3 separate regions of the Homo sapiens genome follow, and regions 1 and 2 are each linked to region 3. The links are contacts of gene promoters, found by promoter capture Hi-C in human tissues and cell types (Jung and others, 2019). All regions are on one chromosome and are shown on one strand. Each heading gives the region's core, a stretch centred on a gene start or on the middle of the fragment in contact. The rest is flanking DNA. Distances are from core to core; before and after follow the strand shown.

Region 1 (3,128 bases), core at 624-3,123, 190 kb after region 3:
TCTGTTCCCCCTTCTTACAATTTTCTATAGCAATTTTAGAGTTTAGAGGAGAAATAAATAGGGTAGGCTTTTTTATTTTTGGAGTTTCGCTAGGCAGTAATTTTATTAAAATTTGATAAATGAGATAGTATTTACTTTTTAATGCAAACTTCATACGGTTTATAGATATAATAGCAAATGAAATTTTGCTTTATACCAAATTTTTGTGTTACATCATAGAAATAGTTTAATGGATAAGTTAATGATCCAGTGTATCGGGTTGCCCAAAGGACCTTGAAATGTGCAGCCTCTCATTTTGAAAGCACTTCAAGCTTTAATTGTTTCCCACAGAGGCAGGTTGCAGGGTGGGTGGAGAATGGTGGAAGGGAAATACATTTGTACAAATGCCAATGAATATGTGCATAGCTAATTTTTTCTCTAAGCTTTTAAAGTTTCAAATAGTGTGTGTTGTGGATTTTTCCCTGAAATCTTTTAAAGAGATTGTAAACCATTTATATTAGACCACTATTGACTGGAATTTAGCTAGAAATTTGTTCTTACCAAGAAAAGTAATTCAGACTTAAGAATAACAATATGATACCTCTCAGATGTCATGAGCTTCAGCCTCCTGGTTTCTTTCTCCTCCTTGGCTACCATGTTGATGTTCCCTTGGGAGCATCCTTTGCTCTTCTACTGCATTCATTCCCTCTGGGTGAGCCCGTTGTTTTCCCTGATGTCACTGCCACCTTCTAGGCATGTGTGATTTCCAGTGATAGCTTAATTTTGGGGCGCTGTCCTAAGATCCAGACCCCAGTGGCCATTGGACACAGACTGGCACTGTCCCCAGGTACCTCACACTGGACATATTGTAACTGGCCTCACCATCGTTCTCCTCAGACCTGCTCCATGAACCTGTTATTTTAGTTGATTCTCATGTTCGCTCTGGGTGGAAAGTACTTTAGGAGATATTATTCCTGTCCTGTGGGATGGGAAGTTATTAAGTAGCAGAGTTGGGACTAGTTCAGAATATGGGCTGCTGGACTTGTCCAGCGTTTCCATGCTGCCTCTGGGTCTTGGTTTCGGGGAATTGGGGGGCCGGTAGGAGACTCCTTCTGGAGAGCCCAGGCCCTGAGTTGCCTTCATCATGTGGTTTCCGTTGTCCTGTGACTGTTGTTTCTGTCACACTCATAGATAGCTGTGGTCCCCCAGCCAGGAGAGGCACTGCCACCATTCCCCAGTCAGGGTCGGAGGGTCAGGTCTCCCACCCCTCTGAGTGTAGCTCCACCAGCTTCAGCAGCGCTCACTCCCAGCAGGGTTACCAGGAACCAGGAAAACCAAATGTGCAGGTGGCCAGTTCTTCTCTTAGGTTCTCTTTACTTGGGCCTCCTCACCCCAGATATCCCTGTGAGTTTGTTTTGGATTTTGGCTTTATTTTTATTCCTTTATAAGGTGCTCATATTCTTTGTTACAAGTTAAAATATTCCTTTCGGGAAAGCCACTGACTTGCTCTTCCTGTCCCTGCTGGCAGGCTCCGCGGAGCAGCTTCTGAGCCCCGAGTGTTGGAAGGCCACTCTGAGAGCCCTGGGCTGCTGCGCCCCCAGCTGCCAGCAGGGGGCAGCGTCCACCGAGGGCGCCGTGCTTCCCAGCTCTTCTGATGCTCTCTTGTCAGACAAGCAGGTGTGTAGCCTTTGGTCTCTGACGTGTTTGTGCATTTCTTTTTATTTCCCTTGCTATTCATTTTTTAAGCAGTTGGAAAACTTGTGCATTATCTTTAAGAGCCATGTGTTTTTCTTTGTGTTAAGTGCTTTGGTTCCCTCGTGTCCCCTTTTTCCAGATGGCTCACCCCATTCCCCTGAGTCTAATTCTTGCCCATGTATCCAAGACAAGGGCAGGCACTCCCCTGTAGATCTTTCCTGCCCACCCTAGCCCATCGGACTCCACCCTGAGACCTCTGGTCGGGTTTCTATGATGCAGTGTCCCATGGAGCTCTGGGTTTTATCCTTTCTGTTTGATATGCATTTGCATGAGAATTTATTTGAAATAATGGTTCCACTGATTTAGAAAAGGTTTGAAACCCACTGATGGCCTGGCGCGGTGGCTCATGCCTGTAACCCCAGCACTTTGGGAGGCCAAGGTGGGCGGATCACTTGAGGTCAGGGATTCGAGACCAGCCTGGGCAACATGGTGAAACCCTGTCTCTACTAAAGAATACAAAAATGAGCTGGGCATGGTGGTGCACGCCTGTAGTCCCAGCTACTCAGGAGGCTGAGGTAGGAGAATCGCTTGAACCCAGGAAGCGGAGGTTGCGATGAGCCAAGATCGTGCCACTGCACTCCAGCCTAGGCGACAGAGCAAGACTCTACCTCAAAACAAAAACAAAAACAAAAAACCATTGATTTATTTCTCATATGCTTTATATTTTTGCCACTCTCTTATAAAGTCAAAGACCTACTATATACACCCCCATCACAGTGTATCATAACACTTTACTAAAATACATATTTAGTAAGCATTTTTTGACTAGTTGTCTCTTCCAGGTAATGGAGACTATACAGTGGCTTTCAGACTTTTTTTATAAGCTTCGGTTATCCAAGATGGACTTTAAAAGCTTTGGTTTATTCTCAAAATGGAGTCCTTATATGGCTGATGTGAAGACATTCTTGGGCTACCTTGTGAAAAGGCTGATTGACTTAGAAATGACCTGTTTGGCCCAAGACCCAACTGCCAGCAGGAAAACAGGTAATATACTTCTCATGCGATGTGGAGCTAGGTGTTTGGACTTTCCATTAAGAGAGATTTAAATAGGCACATTAAGAGATTTATATTGAGTGTCAAGGAGAGAAAGTAGAAATATATAGAACAGGCATGAGCCCATATATGTGTCATATATGTCACAATATATGAATGGATATATTCATTACATAGTGAATGTAGGGTGCTTGCTATAGCTTGTCTCTGCCCCTCCTTTGCAGGTTGGGGTACAGAGAGGTTTCAGTTTCCAACCCTTTCTGTCATTTGTCTTACTAAGATGGGGTTCTAAATCTTATACATTTATCTTTTTTAAAAGTGTGTTATAAAATTATCCATGATATTGTATTGTAATACAAATTCTTCAATTCAGAGAAATTCCAGTGTAGCCAATGAAAACG
Region 2 (4,247 bases), core at 1,658-4,157, 210 kb after region 3:
GAAGAAAAAGACAACTTAGTAGAAAAAAATGGACAAGACCCTTGAAACGACATTCTGCAAAAGAAAATATACTGATCACCAATAAACATGAAACGGTGCTAAATGTTGTTAATGGTCATACCTGTTTCATGTAGATATTGTAAGTATTGAGTGAGATAATATCTAAAATTTTAGCATCAGCCTGGCAAGTCAGCCACATTCAATAAATCTTATGGAAAAAAACTATCAGCAAGCAATGCTGGAGAAACTGTTCTAGAGTTGGTCAGATATGATTGAACCAGGAAGGTTGAATAATAGCTGGCCAGGGAAAGGAGAGAAGGGTGTTCTGGAAAGATCTTCATCGGAAGAGTGATAGGATCAGATATGGTATTTAGGAAAAGATTTGAGAGCCCTGTTGATATGAACAGGAATGGGAGAGACTAGGGTCTGTTGTAGTAATCTATTCCTATTAGTCATAATTAAGAGATAAAATTTAAATTGCTATTCCGTTGAAATTCAGAGATGAGCCTTTATTTCCAAGAATATTTGTACCCATAGAAATACATGAAGAAATAGACAGATATACTGTTACTATCTCTCTCAAACTTGTTTTTTAAGTCCTTGCTTGATAGTAAGTAGGTCGTACAGAAAGATTAAGTGAGGGTTTATTTAACCCTGCATAAGTAGATGAATTTGTTTTGATAGATGCGATGAGTAAGATCTCTCAACTTTTTACCCTTCCTATTGACATAAATACTGAATCCTTGTGGTGTGAAAGCTACAGCTTGAGGAGAGCTAGAAGAGTTGGCAAAAATTATTCCATTTAACTCTCAGTAAAATATATTTTCTGTTTTTGAATGTGAAGATTTGCAGTTCTCTTGTAAAATGAATTCGTTCTTTTTCTTGAATTCCTCTCTCTTTACCTCCAATTTTTTTTGAAAAATTACCAGTTGGTTTACTTTCCTTATTTAAAAAACAAAGAAATAAAAGAGCTGCTGTTAGGACACTTTACAAAGGTTTTTCCTTACATTTATATTTAGTTTTAAGTAATAACCTTTAATGTGTGTAAATCACCCTAGAATATTGACAGCGGTGGCAGTGACAGTGGGTACTTTTGCTACTTGGTTTACTGAATGACTGGTGAGATCTACGTATTTGGTTTTCCATGAGCAAAGGTTGGAAAATAAAGACTGACTAGGCATGTTCTGATAAGTTACTCTTTCACACCAGCTTCAGATTTGTCTATTTATTAAGTATTGCTCTGCTATGCTGCTGTACCCAGGGAACTCACAGTAGTTCCTGCTTTTACTCTTAGTAACCGTGTGCCGCATACTACCTGTACAAACTTAACACCATCCAGAGCCTTCCTTCCAGTCCCTTGCAGTCAGCTACTAGCACTGTAAAATCTGCCTGGAGAACAGCTAAGATTGAAGCACTGTTATTCTCCTGATCACATGGATAGTACCTTTCTGGCAGCCATTCTTGAGTGTGTCTATATTCCTTTCAGACATGGACAGCCAGACCCGCCACATGGCCCTCAGCAGCCTCTTTATGGAAGTCCTGATGATGATGAACAACGCGACTATTCCAACAGCAGAGTTCCTTCGGGGCAGTATCCGGACCTGGATTGGCCAAAAAATGCATGGGCTGGTGGTGCTGCCCCTTTTAACAGCAGCCTGCCAGAGCCTGGCGTCCGTCCGCCACATGGCTGAGACTACAGAAGCCTGCATCACTGCCTACTTCAAAGAAAGTAAGAGGAGGTCATCTTACGCTCCATTGTATTGGTCTTTTCCAGAAAGATGAAAGCATTGTCATCAGCAGATATGTTTCCAGACTCTTCCCAGTGAGGGATTTGCCATTCTAATTTTCTGCTCTACAAATGTTGTGGATGTTTCTGAATATACGTATTTTTCATAAAGATCTGCAGTTAGCATGAGAACCTGTGGCCATGTCTGTTGGTACAATCACATTTCAAGGGAGAAAAGCTCTAATCCACTTCACGTTAGTTTTGGAGGGTCAGACCAACCTGTTATGATATGCAAATTGTGTTGTGTCACAGGCCAAGTCATAGTCCTCAGAACAAATGCTATATACCAGGATCTATATAATCATAGTCCATGAGGTTAATTTTCCCTGTTTTTGTCACTTTTGGTAAAAGGAGTTTTCATAGAAGTTTTTAAAATTGCTGCTTATCAGACCTTTTAAAGCATTATGAAGGGCTCATTCATTGTCACCCCTCCTTTTTAAAAATCTGTTTTACTTTCTACCTCTAAACTGTCAGACTCTGGAAGCGGCTTAGTCTGATTAAGAATTGCTGAGAACAGCACTTCTCAACTCTGATATCCAGATAACACATCACACTGCAGTCAGTGGGAGAGAAGCAGTAGTGAGAAGGAGGGTATCGGAGCAAGGATCCAGGAAGTGCCCACAACCTGCCATCTGCCCTGTCCTGACCACCCATGAACAGCACATGCCCACCCATGGAGGTGGTGTGCATGTCACCATGCCACCCCACCCTCGCTCCCCCAAAGAGTGGAGAACCATTAGGATAACACTGCTATTCCAAACTCATGTGTGTTACTAAAAATCAAACAGTTTCAATACATGAGTTAAACTAAGCTTTGATAAGTAAAACTACTCACAGATTGAGTGATAACAGTTTCCCGTCGGAAAGCATAAGTGTTCATATGTTCTTAAAAAGGGTATTAAAGTTAAAATTCTTAACTGACCAGGACAGGCAGTGTCTACATGTGGTTTTAAGGATCATAATGTGATAGAAAGGTGATTTATACGTATGCAGCCCTGAATTCTGATTTCTTAAACCTTTCTGGTGGCTACGCTGGGGACAGGCATCTGGCCTGAGGGCTATCCAGTCTGAGCCCTGAGGTATATTTGACTTTTGTAGCCTCCAAGGTCACTGTAAGAAAGGTTGTCTTGACATGAAGCTTATTATCTCATAGGTTGCTATGTCAAAAAAAAAAATCATGAAGCTTAAAGTGAAAATATTTGCTAGAGTTGTCAAGTAATTGGATTCTTGCCTATATCTTGATGTCTCTTCTTCATGTTCTTAGGCCCTCTCAATCAGAATTCAGGATGGGGACCCATTCTGGTATCCCTTCAGGTTCCCGAGCTCACCATGGAAGAGTTCCTGCAGGAGTGCCTCACCTTGGGCAGTTACTTGACTCTTTACGTCTACTTGCTTCAGTGTTTAAACAGCGAACAGACTTTAAGGAATGAAATGAAAGTGCTGCTCATCTTAAGCAAGTGGCTGGAACAGGTGTACCCAAGGTACGTTGGCCCTCAGGCTGTTACATCAAACTTGCTGTATTTGGTTAACTTGGAATTTAGAGCTTAAGTCTAGCTTTAAGTACACAGAACCAAGAGGTGCATAAAAAATAAGGTTTTAAGGTATGGTGACAGTTGTTTTGGAAAGATTCTTAATTAATAGGCTAATCTTCTGAGCAGATTTTTTGTTTCCTAAAACTGGCACTTTGAAACACCAAGCATCAGTTTCCTTACCAGTTAAGTGGAGATAGTAATCCCTACCTGATAGGGCTGTCATGAGGATGAAGTGGAAGAACACGAAGTTCATCACAGTGGCGTGTAGTAGGTGTTCCACAGATGGCGGTGGTTACAATCCCATGGCTCTATTAACATCAGCCGTTAGCCTGTGCTTTTGAAGTACTGAATGTCTCCTATCCTTCAAACTCTGATGTGGACTTGCAGTTAAATGGGAGTGGGAAAAATTTACTTCTAATTTTATTTTCCTCCGGTGCCTCCCCTAGCTCCGTGGAGGAAGAGGCAAAGCTGTTTTTGTGGTGGCACCAAGTCCTTCAGCTCTCCCTCATTCAGACAGAGCAGAATGACTCCGTCCTGACAGAATCTGTCATTCGAATTCTGCTCTTGGTTCAGAGCAGGCAGAACCTCGTGGCTGAGGAGAGACTCAGCTCTGGGATCCTGGGGGCAATTGGGTTTGGCCGGAAGTCGCCTTTGTCTAACAGGTAAGGAAGCGCCTTTCTAACACTGTTGTTCTAAATAGGCCTCAGACATCTGTACCTACTTACAGGTTGTGATATACTTCAGTAGGTTTTTCGACTTAGGATCTAGGTTCTCCAGAAAGATTAATGGAAAAAAAAAAAGAAAAAAAAAACAGAGCCTGATTACATCTTTACATTCTAAAAAGCATTTTTATTTTTTCTTACCTTTAAAAAAAATTTTCAATTCAAACAGTATTTTTAATAGTATCTCCTGTTGTGTTTGGACTTTGT
Region 3 (4,424 bases), core at 1,309-3,808:
GTTAGTGTCTTAGTATGTTTTCTGTTGCTTATAACAGAGTATCTGACATCGGGTAGTTTATAAAGGAAAAGAATTTATTTCTCACAGTTATGAAGGCTGAAAAGTCCAAGGTTGAGGGGCCGCATTTGTGCCAGCCTTCTTGCTGGTAGGGACTCTGTGGCATGGGGTGTAACATGGCAAGGAGGTTGATCATGCTAGTTCAGGCCTCTCTTCCTCTTCTTCTTCTTTTTTTTTTTTTTTCTGAGATGGTGTCTCACTCTGTCTCGCCCAGGCTGGAGTGCAGTAGCACTCTCGGCTCACTGCAGCCTATGCCTCCTGGGTTCAAGCGATTCTCCTGTCTCACCCTCCCAAGTAGCTGGGACTACAGGCGTGTGCCGCCACACCCGGCTAATTTTGTATTTTTAATAGAGATGGGGTTACATCATGTTGGCCTGCCTGGTCTTGAACTCTTGACCTCAGGTGATCCACCTGCCTTGTCCTCCCAAAGTGCTGGGATTACAGGCATGAGCCACTGTGCCCAGCCATCTCTTCCTCTTCTTATAAAGCATAAAGCCACCAGTTTCATCTCCTGATAACCCATTAATCTACTAACCCATTAATCCATGAATGGGACTAGTGGCCCTCGTGACCCAATCACCTCTTAAAGATCCTACCTCTCTCAATACTGTCTCATTTCAGATTAAGTTTCAACAAGAATTCTTGGAGGGGGCAACATTCAAACCACAGAAGTTAGTAAAATATCCTAAATATGTCCCTTGGATATAGCACACACTTTGTTTGTTTTTTTACTCACAATACCTGCCCCAGAGATGAGCTGTTTGAGGAATGAAGAATATTTTCCAGCAGCGTGGATGACCATTTGCAATTAAAAACTTTGTCACCAGATGGCGGAAGAGGGTTAAAATTCAGGGAGCTTAGAGTCTGAGTCGCGAAAATCAAGCACAATGTACTGTGAGAGCTTGTGAAACGTTCTAATAACTTAAAATTATACATGTATTAAAAATTAAAATGTGACAATTAGAATTGTATCTAAACTATTTTTCCAGAATATTTAAAACTTCCAGGAAAAACCTTAGTGGTGTCTTCAGCTCTCCCGCTTCTATGTCCCCAGTTTGTGCCATTTCTTACCCCCTGCAGTTAAGCCTAGCTTCCTAGTGCCTACCACGTCCTCTGCTGCCCCTTGATGGTTCTGCCAGGCTTCTCTGCCTTCCTTCTAATCTCACTGCTTTCAAAGGATATGAGCAAGTACGTAAATGGATGCATCCCTTGGAGATGCTTGGTGGCTGGAGGCCACCTCTCCATCTTTGCAGTTGTGGATGACTTTATTGGTGGGAGTTCATCTGAGTGGGGCTGGCTGCAGTTTTATGGAGCAGAACTTGTTCCAGGTGCTTCACATAATTCTAGCAATTGCCCTTTCACTGTGTCTGGGTGTAGCTAGAACCTGCTCCAGGGGTGAGTGCTTGCTTCTCCAGGCTGGGCTGGTGCCAGTCTTGGCAACCTTGACCTTTATCCTCCCCACTTTGAGCACCTATTCCTCTGCCCAGGATGGATCTGCCCCAGGAAGGATGTCTGTCTTTGCATCTATTTAGAAGGGCAGAGCTCTAACCTTGAGCTCTTCATCCCTTAAATAAACTGTGATCTTGGGCAAGCCATTCAACCCCTCTGGGCCTCAGGTTGGGCTTCGGGCCTGTCGCACCAGGCAGTACTTTGTCATAAGCCCTGCATTACTATTAAAAGTCATGGCAAAAACCGCAATTACTTTTGTACCAATCTACTACAATGCAGAGAGGGGTCTGACCTGCCCTGGGGTTTTATTTGTGAGGGTGGAAGAGTGGAGGGAGAAGAAGGAATCTTGGGCCCCTCTTGCTGGGGTGGAATGGGCAGGGAAGGGTCTTGCCTTTTGAGAATGGAAAGGGAGTCAGAGAGCGGCTGAGCTCCTGGAAGCCCTGTTAGGACACCACCAAGTGACTAGAGTCAAGGGGAAACAGCAGAGATGACCTCTCCATGACATTTTAGACTAAAACGTGACCCCATTCATTAAAAACACCTGCAACAACAAAAAGTAAAATAAAAAATGAACCGTCCCCCAGGGCCTGATCTGCAGCAGGTGCCGGTGGGGCCCGCCGTGAAGCCAAGGCGTCTGCGGGAGTTGTCGGCCCCAGGCCTTCTGTAGCTTAAACCGGGTCCTCGCGACCATCTGATCAGATCCCGTCTATCACCCCGCAGAGCCTGGATTTCGTGCTGTCCAGGGGGCCTTGTGGGCAGGAACCCAAGCCAGGACCAGTTATTTCCAATACCCAAAGACTTCCAGAAGGAGGCAGCTAGCTTCGGGCTGATATATTGATCGTGGCCCGACGCTGTGGGGCTTTAAATGGGCCTGGGTCCGGGTGCGGGCTGCAGCCCCTGGCCGGGTGAGCGCCGAGGGTCCCGCCCAGGTCTCGCGCAGGGAGCGCAGAGCGCCGACGGCGGCCGTCGCAATCGGGAGTGGTTTAGGACCCGGGGGCGGCTTCCCTGCGCGAGTGTGGAACGCAGAAGTTGAGTCTGCGGAGCCGCGGGCAGTGGCAGTCAGGCCTCCCCGCTCTGTGCTACCTGCGGCCCGGCTCTCCTCCGCGCCCCCACTCGCGCTGCGATGACGCGCTCACTGTTCAAGGGAAACTTTTGGGTAAGTCGTGGGGCCGACAGCGGATCGCGGGGCTCAGGACCCGGCCCGGGCGGGAGGCCAACGCGGCGGGCGTGGGGGGCTCCCCAGCTCCGGCGCCACTCGGTGACCGCGCGCCCGGGGGCTTGGCGGAGCTCGCGCGTGAAGGGATCGGGGCCCCAGCCCCACTGCTCGAGGGGCAGACTTGGAGCGGACGCCGGGCTGCTGTTCCCTCTCTGTCCCCCGCTACCCACCGCGTGCCCGCGAGTCCCGGGGGCTCGGACTCCAGGGCCCACCCTCTGCCGCCCGCGCCCCCAGCAGCGCGTGCTCCTGAGGACGCAGAGAGCCGAGACACCTTAGAGTCAGGACATCAACCCCTCCTCTCACAGGCGAAGCAGAGACCCTTAGGGAGGCGAGACCCGTCCGGGGAGAGTCTCTGCCGGTCCCTGGAGCTGAGCCGTGAGAGGATCTGGGGGGATCTGGTGTGGGGGCTTGTGAGCTTTACCGGGTTGACAGCAGCAGCTGCCCCCCGGGATCGTCCTTTCCAGGAAACGTACAGCATAGAGGGCTTCCCTTTGCTGGAGCTTTCCCTGTTCTACAGCCTTGTTTCCCGAGCCCCCTCCCCAGGCCATTGCCCCAGCCCTTCCGTCCAGGCCCCATAGCGGGGCTGATGGTGTGGGAGACCCTATAAGCTGGAGGGGGTACCCCACCCAGCCCGGTAGGGCCAGCCCAGCCTGGAGGGAGCAGGTCTGCCTGTCCCCCTCCTCTGTCTAGTCCTCTTCCCTCTGTCCTCTCACTCCCCAGGTGCCCCTCAAGGTCCATGCCCCCTCATTCAGAGGAGCTGTCCTCATCCCTTTAAGACAGGAGCAGGAGGCTGCAAACCTCAAAGTTGACCGCAGCTGCCAAGGGGCCCTGACTCCTTACTGGGGCTCCTGCTTGCCTCCCCCCACCACCCACCCAGGTAGCTTCACAGCTGCCTAGATGGTCCCTCTACCCCACGTGGGCTGCAGGGTAGAGAAACCTGGCTGGGGACCTCAGGGACACAGTTGAGACTGTGCCTGTGAGTCCCTTCACTGGAGTTTGTGAGGTCCTTCTGGGGCACTACTCACCCTAGGGTGCAGGGTGGTGGCAGCCTCACAGAGGAACCAAGGGCACCACAGATGGCTCTCACGGGAGGCTTGCGAGTTTTTCAGGTAGAATGGAGGACTGGGGGATCCCATGGCAGGCACTGTGGGAAAAAGGCTCTGTATAATACAAACTGGAGAATGAGATGTGGGCCCCAGAAATAAGGAAGTCAGCAGAGGAACTGGTTCGTGGAGACATAAGGAGAAGGAGGCAGACGTGATACTAACAGTATTTAGTTCAGGCACAGTGGCTCATGCCTGTGATCCCAGCACGTTGGGAGGCCGAGGTAGGAGGATTGCTTGAGGCCAGGAGTTCGAGACCACCCTGGGCAACATAGTGAGACTCTGTCTGTCTCTACAAAAAAATCTTAAAAATTAGCTGGGCATGGTGGTGCATGCCTGTAGATATAGTTACTTGGGAGGCTGAGGCAAGAGGATTGCTTGAGGCCAGGAGTTTGAGGTTGCAGTGAGCTATGATCACATCACTGCACTCCAGCCTGGACGACAGAGTGATTTGTGTTTGTCTCAAAAACGAACAAACAAACAAACCCAACCAAACAACACAATCCTCAGTATTTAGCCACAGTTTTAGCACTGGCAAGGCTAAGGCCAGGCGGGCGCTAAGCCCCTCCCCACCAGCCTCCACCCCTCAGCCCCATGCC

Evidence for each region. The method cuts DNA at HindIII sites, captures the fragments that hold promoters and counts their contacts. A contact is called where the count stands out against the background at its distance.
Region 1: a contact is called between a fragment that was not itself captured here and the fragment with the promoter of PSTPIP2 in region 3, in 1 of the 25 tissues and cell types used here (heart right ventricle).
Region 2: a contact is called between a fragment that was not itself captured here and the fragment with the promoter of PSTPIP2 in region 3, in 2 of the 25 tissues and cell types used here (lymphoblastoid cells and spleen).

Annotation. Positions count from the first base shown.
Region 1 is chr18:45,878,603-45,881,730 of GRCh38, reverse strand. EPG5 (ectopic P-granules 5 autophagy tethering factor) reads left to right here. Exons shown (of 44, transcript NM_020964.3): 32 at 1,508-1,656; 33 at 2,517-2,718. Among named protein-coding and RNA genes, the nearest start is that of SIGLEC15, 54 kb to the right of the region's middle. The HindIII fragment of the contact is 3,011 bases long and covers 368-3,128 here.
Region 2 is chr18:45,857,586-45,861,832 of GRCh38, reverse strand. It overlaps EPG5 (ectopic P-granules 5 autophagy tethering factor), which reads left to right. Exons shown (of 44, transcript NM_020964.3): 40 at 1,487-1,729; 41 at 3,051-3,267; 42 at 3,765-3,980. Among named protein-coding and RNA genes, the nearest start is that of SIGLEC15, 34 kb to the right of the region's middle. The HindIII fragment of the contact is 4,070 bases long and covers 873-4,247 here.
Region 3 is chr18:46,070,394-46,074,817 of GRCh38, reverse strand. It overlaps PSTPIP2 (proline-serine-threonine phosphatase interacting protein 2), which reads left to right and starts at 2,558. Exons shown (of 15, transcript NM_024430.4): 1 at 2,558-2,662. The coding sequence starts at 2,630. RefSeq lists silencers at 2,263-2,422, 2,553-2,602, 2,643-3,022 and enhancers at 2,152-2,653, 3,873-3,932, 3,973-4,072. The HindIII fragment of the contact is 22,245 bases long and covers 1-4,424 here.